Linked DNA regions of Homo sapiens: region 2 is linked to region 1. The links are contacts of gene promoters, found by promoter capture Hi-C in human tissues and cell types (Jung and others, 2019). All regions are on one chromosome and are shown on one strand. Each heading gives the region's core, a stretch centred on a gene start or on the middle of the fragment in contact. The rest is flanking DNA. Distances are from core to core; before and after follow the strand shown.

Region 1 (4,646 bases), core at 805-3,304:
TGGACATGTGTAACCAAGACCTTTATGTTTAAAAATTAAACTTGCTCTGATCATTAATTCTATAGAATTAATGTTACCAAAGCTGCAGTAACATACTATTCAAAAATTCATTTTCCCAGACTTCTAACTACTTAAAACAAAAAACCCCCCACACACAATTACATACATTCACACAGCTGCTATGCTCCCAAATGGAATGCATATATTAATGCACACACAGAGACACTCAGAAAGCACACGTGCAGGGCTGCCAGAAGACACCCATTTTGAACCTGAGGTGCATGTGGGCCGCAGTGAAGGTCAAGAAGCCTGGCTGCATATCTGTTCAATGTCATTCATCTCTTTGGGACAGTCTGCAGAAAGGATGAGAGGTGAGTCCTGAGTCACCACTACATCATCCTCAATTCGTACACCAAGACCCCGAAACTTCTCTGGGGCATCTTTGTCATCCTCTGGAATATAAATGCCTGTGAAGTAGAAAGAAGAACATGCTGTTCAGGAATGATAGTAACTGGGTGGTTTGGGGCAAGTAAGTTAACCTCTGGGTTAAAATTCCTTCCTCTGTAATACTGGATCTTTATGGTACCTACCTAGTAAAGCTGTGAGGATTAAATGAGATAATACATGTCAAAGTGGCTGGCATATAATGGTCAACACATGTTGGTATCATTACTAAAATTATTATTGTGGTTATCTTTATATTGGACTACAAGCTAAATACAACTACGGCAATGCTGATCATGATTCTGTCATATTCTAGTGGCTCAAGCAGGCCAATAAAGTTACTTAATTTAAAAGTACGTCAATATATGTGGGGGACAAGCAGATTATGTAAGTGCATTCTTCCCCTGCCTAAGAGTCCCTTGGAAAAAGAGCACCTTGCAAAAATAAAGACAAAATATATTTAAACTGTATTCAAAGAAACATTTAGAGATTATTAGCCTTGACAACTGGAAGCTGCAGAGACAGTCATTATAAGATTTAAATATATCTGATGTGTGTAATATAAAATACAAGAGAAACTGAAAGACTTTAATGTACATTTGGAAAAATGTAGGAACCCCAGGTACCCTTTCTAATCATGAAGTTAGACACATACCAGGGCTTTTTATATTAAACAAGTTGTAAACTTCCTCCACTATCCTCACAGATACTGCTCTGCGATTGAAAAAGAAAGATCAGCAAAGGAAAATGTAGCGCAGTCTAAGGAAGCGCCCATGTACCAAACAGATTGAACTAAATGATATATCTATGGCCACAGATAGCAATGTATGACTAGGTTCAAAGGGTGGCATAAAAGACATTTCACAGCCATAATTTATACAGAGATTAAAATACTTGAAATCTAAAATTTAGATCTGTTTTCAAAACAAAACCAGCATCAGTATTTAACCATCAACTCTGACAACATCAATCTTCACACACCATTGTGGTCACTGCTTCTCTTCAGAATCCTGCCCAACACCCAGGACCATTCAAGTTAGGTAACGTATCCGATTGTTAGCTTTCTCTGAAGCTTATGAGGAAGGCGATGGATACTAAGGAGTGGGATGGTGCTGGGTAGCTCAATGCAGCTTGCAGAGGTGTTGAAACTGAGAGCATAGTGTGTCTGCCTGTCTCTCTGCACACAAGCACCGGGGGCTTTGGAAGCTTGAGCAGCCCCCCACTACTAAATGGGAGACCAGTACAAACTGGCCCTGGGAAAGGCAGGATTAAAAAAGATTCATTTCTTAATATCTACTTATAGGAAGTATTCCCCATCTGTTGTTTATTGGAGGAGTCAAACTGAACAAATTGTGTGATATTAAATAAGAATACAAAAGATAAATCGAAAATAAAATTACCTTCCACACTGGACTTTTTTTCCTGTCTCTTCTAACTTAATTACATTGGTTGAGGTAAAAATAAACAATGTGGCTGGGCGCGGTAGCTCACGTATAATCCTAGCACTTTGGGAGACTGAGATAGGTGGATCACCTGAGGTCAGGAGTTCGAGACCAGCCTGGCCAACATGGCGAAACCCCGTCTCTACTAAAAATATAAAAATTAGCCAGGCGTGGTGGCCGACACCTGTAATCCCAGATACTCAGGAGGTTGAGGCAGGAGAATTGCTGAACCTGGGGGGCGGAGGTTGCAGTGAGTGAAGATCACACCACTTCACTCCAGCCTGGGCGAAAGAGCAAAACTCCATCTCAAAAACAAACAAACAAACAAACATTTACCTCATACTACTATTGTAACACCTCTCCTTACCGGGCTCAATTGTGATTACCATCCCAGGCTGCAGAGGGAGGGAACGGGGCATGTCTGGAGTGTCATGGACATCCATCCCGAGGTAGTGGCCAACATGATGAGGACAGTATTTTCGAGCAGCCTGGAAAAGATAATTGTCACAGTATCATTAGAGCAATGACCTCTTACAGGGAATGCTGGGCAAGTATAAATCAGTGAGATATGTGTTATTATCTCCCCCATGGTTCTGCCACTTCAGTTTAATCCCTCCTTGGGCTAATACTTAAAGGCACCTGAAAAACTGCGACCTCTTACATGCAATTCTGCCAATGGCATTCTCATCAATCCACATTTCCATTCCCGCTATTTAATATACTACATACATGCAGACTTGAGTAATTCCAACTAATGACTGTGGCAAATGAAAGTCTCTTTTCTTCAGTACCACAGGAAAGATAAAAATAAAAGAAAGAAAAAAAAATCTCTTTTCTTGGGAAAGAGAGGATGACTATTATCACAGTTCTCTTTCCAATGTTCGTTCACACATCCCTCTCAGGAATCTACTCTGGAGACCCTAAATAGCTCACAGCAACTTGTGGAGAAGGCACACTTTTGGGCACCTACCAGCTTGGGTATTTCTTTCTTTTTTTTTGAGATGGAGTCTTGCTCTGCTGCCCAGGCTGGAGTGCAGTGGTGTGATCTTGGCTCACTGCAAACTCTGTCTCCTGGGTTCAAGCTATTCTCCCACCTCAGCCTCCCAAATAGCCGGGATTATAGTCATGTACCACCATGCCTGGCTAATTTTTGTATTTTTAGTAGAGACAGGGTTTTACCATGTTGGCCAGGTTGGTCTCGAACTCCTGACCTCATGTGATCCGCCTGCCTCAGCCTCCTAAAGTGCTGGGATTACAGGTGTGAGCCACTGTGCCCAGCCAGCTTGGATATTTCCGTCAGTTAGTTAAAGATTTGTTGGCCCAAGCAACAGCCAATTTATAGCTTCATTTTTACTGATAACAGAAGTCCTAGAAGGCTTAACTTGTAGGTAGGAGATGCCTAATGGTCTATCTGACTTAGGCATCTAGTATCTTAATTTTAAAGCTGAGGTTTTACGTTTTTACTGAACACCATCACATTTTGGATGCAGAAAAAAAATTCACTAATGACATGGTCTTTGGGAATATTGCTGAAGTGTCAAAAATGTCACTTAAACAACAAATACCTTCTCCTTTGACCTACAGAATAACCCATAAAAGGATTAAAAGTTAATCTCTCTCTCTTTTTTTTTTTTTTAGACACAGGGCCTTGTTCTGTGGCCCGGGTTGGAGTGCAGTGGTGCGAACATAGCTCACTGCAGCGTTGAACTTCTGGGGTCAAGTGATCCTCCCACCTCAACCTCCCAAGTAGCTGAGACTAGAGGTGTGTGCCACCACACCTGGCTAACTTTTAAATTTTTTGTAGAGATAGGGTCTTGCTATGTTTCCCAGGCTTCTCCTCATTTCTTGTTTCCTTTTTCACCCTGTCGGCACCAGACTTCATTTTAAGTTTTCTGAATACTGAGCTAGTTATGCAGCATGTAATGAATCAGCATGTGCTGCCATCTTCTGGAAGAAATAAGTACTGACTTCCTTTGTTTTAATCCATGTTAAAGCTAAATCCCTTTTATAGATCACAAAGATGATTTCTAAATCTTTTCTTTTTACTTAAAAAACCCTGTGTGTGTATGTATATATATCTACGTATGTGTGTGTATATATATATGTGTGTGTGTGTGTGTGTGTGTGTATATATCTACATGTATATAGATGGGTCTTGCTATGTTGCCCAGGCTGGCTTCAAGCAATCCTCCTGCCTCAGCCTCCTAAACTACTGGGATTACAGGCATGAATCACTACATCTGTCCCATTTCTAAGTCTAATTAGCTTTATATAGGGTAAAAACCTAGCAGCATGCTAGGTGTTCTTGAGAACTGGGGTCAAGAGAAGTGAAGTACCTTGAAGGCATTATTTTCCTTAATGTTCTTCATGATCCCCAAGTCTTTAAGCTTCTGTCCTATCAGGGTCAGCATCATGCTGTAGATGTTCTCCAAGCTTGTCCCAGGGAAGCAGAGGGCCAAACAATCTCTTTGGATCTCTAGAACGGCTTCATAGAGTTCTGCCTGAGGTGCGGTGAACCTGGGGACGGGAAAACCAAAGAACCTGAACTTAGATAATCTGATATTCTAAGAAGTTTGCTACTAAGTTTGATTAGAAAAACCCCAAGATGCTGCTGTTGCTGGGGCACTGTTGATGTTTAATAAGTACCAATCTATCAATATGGCCAGGAGCTCAATCATGTCCTAGGTGCTCAGTAGGAAGGGCAACAATCCTTCAAGCTGGAGCAGCAACACAGTCTCTTCTTCAAATGGTCAGGAGAGA
Region 2 (4,877 bases), core at 401-2,900, 540 kb before region 1:
TTCCTGAGAGTACAACGCATAACAACTCGTAAAATTCTATTATCAAAGTTGCGCCACTTGATCCAAAAGGAATTCACAAAGTTAAATGTGAAAGGTTGACAGAGAATGTCTACAGATGCTTGCTTGATTTTTATTAACAAAGTACACATTTGACATTGAACCTCTGAGTATAACACCTTCCCAGGGCTGTCAAGTTAGAAGTGAAAAAATCATCTGGCAGTCAGTCAGCTTTCTAGATAGCTCCTAACAGGGGAGTCAAGGTCAAACTGGAGTCTCCTTATCCTCCCATATTTGACAAGCAACTTATTGTGAGGCTCAAAATATTCGTACTGCATTCTGACAAACAGAAATAATTGCACCGTGGTTCATAAAGTTCTGTGAGGGCAGGCTGACATAAACAAGAACTGAGTGGTGGTAGGGCCCATGCTTCTGCCACAGCACTTCGGTGACACTCTTGAGAATCAGAACTTTCACCTACTTTCTACCAGCTTTATCATCTATCAAATGAGAAAAACCACCTCATTCCTACGATTACAGGAATCAAATAATATTATGAAGAATTAAAACAGGCCTCAAATCTTGTGCAAAGGTGAGAGACTATTATTATATTATTTACTACGTATGGGCCCAGAAGACCGCCCCCCTCCCCGACATTCCACGTTCCGCAGGGTCCTCAAAAGGTGGTACAGGGTCCTAGTTTCTTCTCCAGACTCCAGGCCTGGCAACCGTAGATGCTGTCATGCCTCTGTTGCTAAGAGATGGGAAGTGAGGCCTCAGGAACTGGGCCTAGAAGACTCAACAACGACCGCGCCCCCTAGTCACCTTGTCCTCACCTTGAGGAATGGAAACACACCCCACGGGAGCAGGCAATGCTGTCCTCAAAAAGAAGAAAGAGGTGCCTCCGCTCTTCACCCGGCCGCCGCTGCTTGGGCCCACGCTTCTTGCGAGGCAGGGACAGGGCCAGGAAAGCTGACTGTGCCGGGGACGCCTTGACCTAGGGCACCAGAGAAGCGGGCACGGGTGCCGGGCCCACAACCGGGACAGGTACACGAGAAGTTGGCCCCAGGTTGGGCCCGCCTCGCCCTGCCTCGCCCACAGCCGCCGGCACAGTAGGAGGCACCCCGCCCCCGTGAACCCAGAGGTCCCTGAGCTCGCTCACCTGCAGCCGAGTCACCAGTAGGCTGTAGGGCGCCATTTTGTGCACTGACAAAGATGAGGTCGCATTAAAGTGACGTCCCACACGGCGCCTTTAAAGCCTTTGGGCAGGGGCGTGCCCGGAAGAGTGGGGCGTCACGGTGAAGGCGAGGCCTCCCTAGAGGCGCCAGAACCCTGTGAACGCAATGGGCGGAGCTCACGTGCAACGAACAGACACGCAAGAGGAAATCGGACTGCCCAAAGACACTTGCAGAAATAGATACCAAGCACAAAGATGTTTTACCCAAGAACAAATTTTAGTTATCTCCGCCATCCAAATCTGGGAGAGTTTTTAAGAGTTTCATGCACCTGCCAGGACCTGGCCGCCCAGCAGCGACAAAAACTCGCGCGAGAGCAAGACGGGCCTGGTGCAAGGATTGTAAACTGACGGAAGCTTAGAGAACCAATCACAGCGACGTGGAGGCAGGAACAATGGGGGTTAAAGGTCGGACGGAAGTTCCCGAAGCTTCCGGTGGCCGGCTTAGTTAGGAGCTATGGCTAAACATCATCCTGATTTGATCTTTTGCCGCAAGCAGGCTGGTGTTGGTGAGACTGCGCCCTACCCCTGGCTGTCTGGGCAGGGGTGGTATTAGGAGCTGGGGGGTCGGGGGTTCCCGTCTCTTCCTTAGGGGCTTGCCTCGCAGGCGCCACGTTTCCCGCCTCTCAGGCGCGGGGTGTTGTAGGAGCGCGCAGGTTTGTGGCCTCTGATGAGAAGAGGGCGGGGGTGCGCGTGCTGGGAGCCCCAGGCAGGTATCGGGGGGTGGGGTCTGAACCAGGTCCAGAGAAACTCTGAGCTTGCCCAGGGCGTTGGAGGAGATTCAGGAGGGTGCTTGGATGTAGGTTTGGTTCATATGGAAATTTGTAATGATAAAATGGCTATCCGCAGGTCTCACTCACTGCAGTCCTTACTCATGTCCCTACCCCCAGCTCGAGGATGTACTTCTCCTCTTTCTCAAAACCTTTATTCTAATTGTACTTTTTACCATCTTTCATCTTGCAGCCATCGGAAGACTGTGTGAAAAATGTGAGTGGAACACACCGTCCCAACAACCCACCCTTCCCACTCCCAGTTTTCTGTGGAACCAGCAAAAGTGCCACAAAGAGGGCTTTGAGTAGATGTGCCTGGAAGTATGTGAACACTGAATGCTGCACTTTAGCCAAAGGCCCCTCTAACTCCCCACTGCCGCTTGCACATTTAACGCTGTATCTCTCTAGTTTTCAACGGGAAGAATCGCCAGAGTAGCATGACCCCTCCCCAACACACAGCACTTTGCCAGCAATTATACAGGCTTATCATCTCCGAGGTGCTTTTCTAAGCTCTTCACATATGTTAATTGGTAAACTTTTGTATGTGTTGAGGGGCTTGAGATGGACACTGGGGAAACCAAGTTTTGTGATGCCAAGAGGAGGGCCCTAAAGTCACTGTCAAAAGGAGACTAGTGTATTTCCCAGGAGACTAGTATATTTCCCCATGGCAGGAGATAGCAGAGGACTGAAGAACTTGTGAGCATGACTCCATTCTCTTCCTTACAGGTGATGGCAAGTGTGTGATTTGTGACTCCTATGTGCGTCCCTGCACTCTGGTGCGCATATGTGATGAGTGTAACTATGGATCTTACCAGGGGCGCTGTGTGATCTGTGGAGGACCTGGGGTCTCTGATGCCTATTATTGTAAGGAGTGCACCATCCAGGAGAAGGACGTAAGTGTACAGCTTTCCATCTGACCTTTCCTCCTTTTGTTTAGTAACACTTTGCCATCCACTGCAATCTCCTATGGTCTATGGAGATTACTGTGTTCATCTAGTCATCTAGGTTATAATTTCTTCAAGTTCTGTGAGTCAAACTGGGTGTAGTCCAATAAAAGGCAGTTATTTTGCATCAAGGGGAAGAATGCAAGGGAAGCAAATCTTTGTCAAGACCAGCAATTTGGAGAGCCCTCTCATTCATGTCTCTGTGGTTATTCTTATTCAGAAATGACATCCGGCTGGGCGTGGTGGCCCACACCTGTAATCTCAGCACTTTGGGAGTCCAAGTTAGGAGGATCACTTTAGTCCAGGAGTTAAAGACCAGCCTGGGCCACAGAGCAAGATCCCATCTCAAAAAAAAAAAAAGTGTTTTGTTTTTTGTTTTTTGCTTCTTGTTTTTTGTTTTTTTGAGATGGGGTCTCTTGCTCTGTGGCCCAGGCTGGGGTGCAGTGGCATGATCATGTGCAAGGCTCACTGCAGCCTTGACCCCCTGGGCTCAAACGATCCTCCCATCTCATCCTCCCAAGTAGCTGGGACTACAGGCATGCGCCACCATACCTGGCTAAATTTTTTTTGTAGAGACAGGGTCTTGTTTTGTTACCTAGGTTGGTCTCGAACTCCTGGGCTCAAGTGATCCTCCTGCCTTAGCCTCACCAAGTGCTGGGATTACAGGCATGAACCATCACGCCTGGCCAAAAAAACATATTTTTCATTAGTCAGGTGTGCTGGTGTGTACCTGTGGTCGCAGCTACTTGGGAAACTGAGGCGGATGGATCACTTGGGACCAAGAGGTCAAGGCTGCAGTGAGCCATTTTCACGCCACTGCACTCCAGCCTGGGTGACAGAGACCCTGTCTGTTTATAAGTCCTGTACAGCCCATGTTGTGTCATAGCCACTTAAATCTATCATTAAGCACTATTTGGGTGTATATCGTGACAAAGTTGAATTTGGGACAATTCAAGTTGACTTCAGCTTTAAGCAGGTAACAGATGCCTTTGGTTTAATATTGCAGAAATGATTGTGGACCTGCATCGTGATTTTTTTTGTCCCTTGACACTGTGTAGTGGCAGTGGCTACTTTCTATTCAACTCTGAGCCAAATGCCAGGAGAGAGAGCTTATAGACTAGTGCTACAGGCAAGATTTACCCCATTTTTTTCGGTTAGTATTGGCAGCAGGGTTCTTTGTGGGAGAAAACTATGAATCAGCTTGTTTTCTTCAAAAAACAAAAGGAAGTATGATACAGTCTCACTAGGTTAATGATGGTACCTAGTTATCTAATTTAATTCTAATTCAGAATAAGGCAAAAGATGCGTAATTCTTCATATTCCCATGAGCGAAGAATAGGTCTTTTATAGATGTTATCACACCTTGTTCCTCACAATAAGTTTGTGAAATAGGGATTATTATTATGATGCCCATTTTGTAGTTCCTCTGACAAGCCCAGGCTGTTCAACTAAACCTTGTAGTGTCCTTATTTCACTATGTTGTCCTTTTATTTATTTATTTATTTATTTATTTTTTGAGATGGAGTTTCACTCTTGTTGTCCAGGCTGGAGTGCAGTGGCGCCATCTCGGCTCACCACAGCCTCCGCCTCCTGGGTTCAAGCGATTCTCCTGCCTCAGCCTCCCGAGTAGCTGGGACTACAGGTGCATGCCACTATGCCCAGCTAGTTTTTGTATTTTTAGTAGAGATGGGGTTTCACTATGCTGGCCAGGTTGGACTCAAACTCCTGACCTTGCGATCCACCCATCTGGGCCTCCCGAAGTGCTGGGATTACAGGCGTGAGCCATCACGCCTGGCCTTATGTTGTCCTTTTACAAGTGTTTCTGGGATGTGCCCATGGTGAAGGCAGTAACGCCAGTACCTCATTTCACGCACTTGGATCCTGCCTACCCCCAGTAAGTGGGAGAGATTGGGCCAGATAAGACCACACCAT

Evidence for each region. Contacts are between HindIII fragments. The study calls those that stand out against the background at their distance.
Region 2: the fragment with the promoter of PHF5A here is called in contact with a fragment that was not itself captured in region 1 in 1 of the 25 tissues and cell types used here (dorsolateral prefrontal cortex).

Annotation. Positions count from the first base shown.
Region 1 is chr22:40,922,090-40,926,735 of GRCh38, reverse strand. XPNPEP3 (X-prolyl aminopeptidase 3) reads right to left here. Exons shown (of 10, transcript NM_022098.4): 8 at 4,223-4,403; 9 at 2,254-2,374; 10 at 1-467. The coding sequence ends at 301. Among named protein-coding and RNA genes, the nearest start is that of RBX1, 27 kb to the left of the region's middle. The HindIII fragment of the contact is 4,484 bases long and covers 1-4,296 here.
Region 2 is chr22:41,465,465-41,470,341 of GRCh38, reverse strand. PHF5A (PHD finger protein 5A) reads left to right here and starts at 1,650. Exons shown (of 4, transcript NM_032758.4): 1 at 1,650-1,740; 2 at 2,195-2,218; 3 at 2,728-2,894. The coding sequence starts at 1,689. It overlaps ACO2 (aconitase 2), which reads right to left and starts at 1,225. Exons shown (of 18, transcript NM_001098.3): 1 at 1,160-1,225. The coding sequence starts at 1,195. RefSeq lists enhancers at 558-1,119, 1,120-1,681, 1,251-1,920. The HindIII fragment of the contact is 2,873 bases long and covers 795-3,667 here.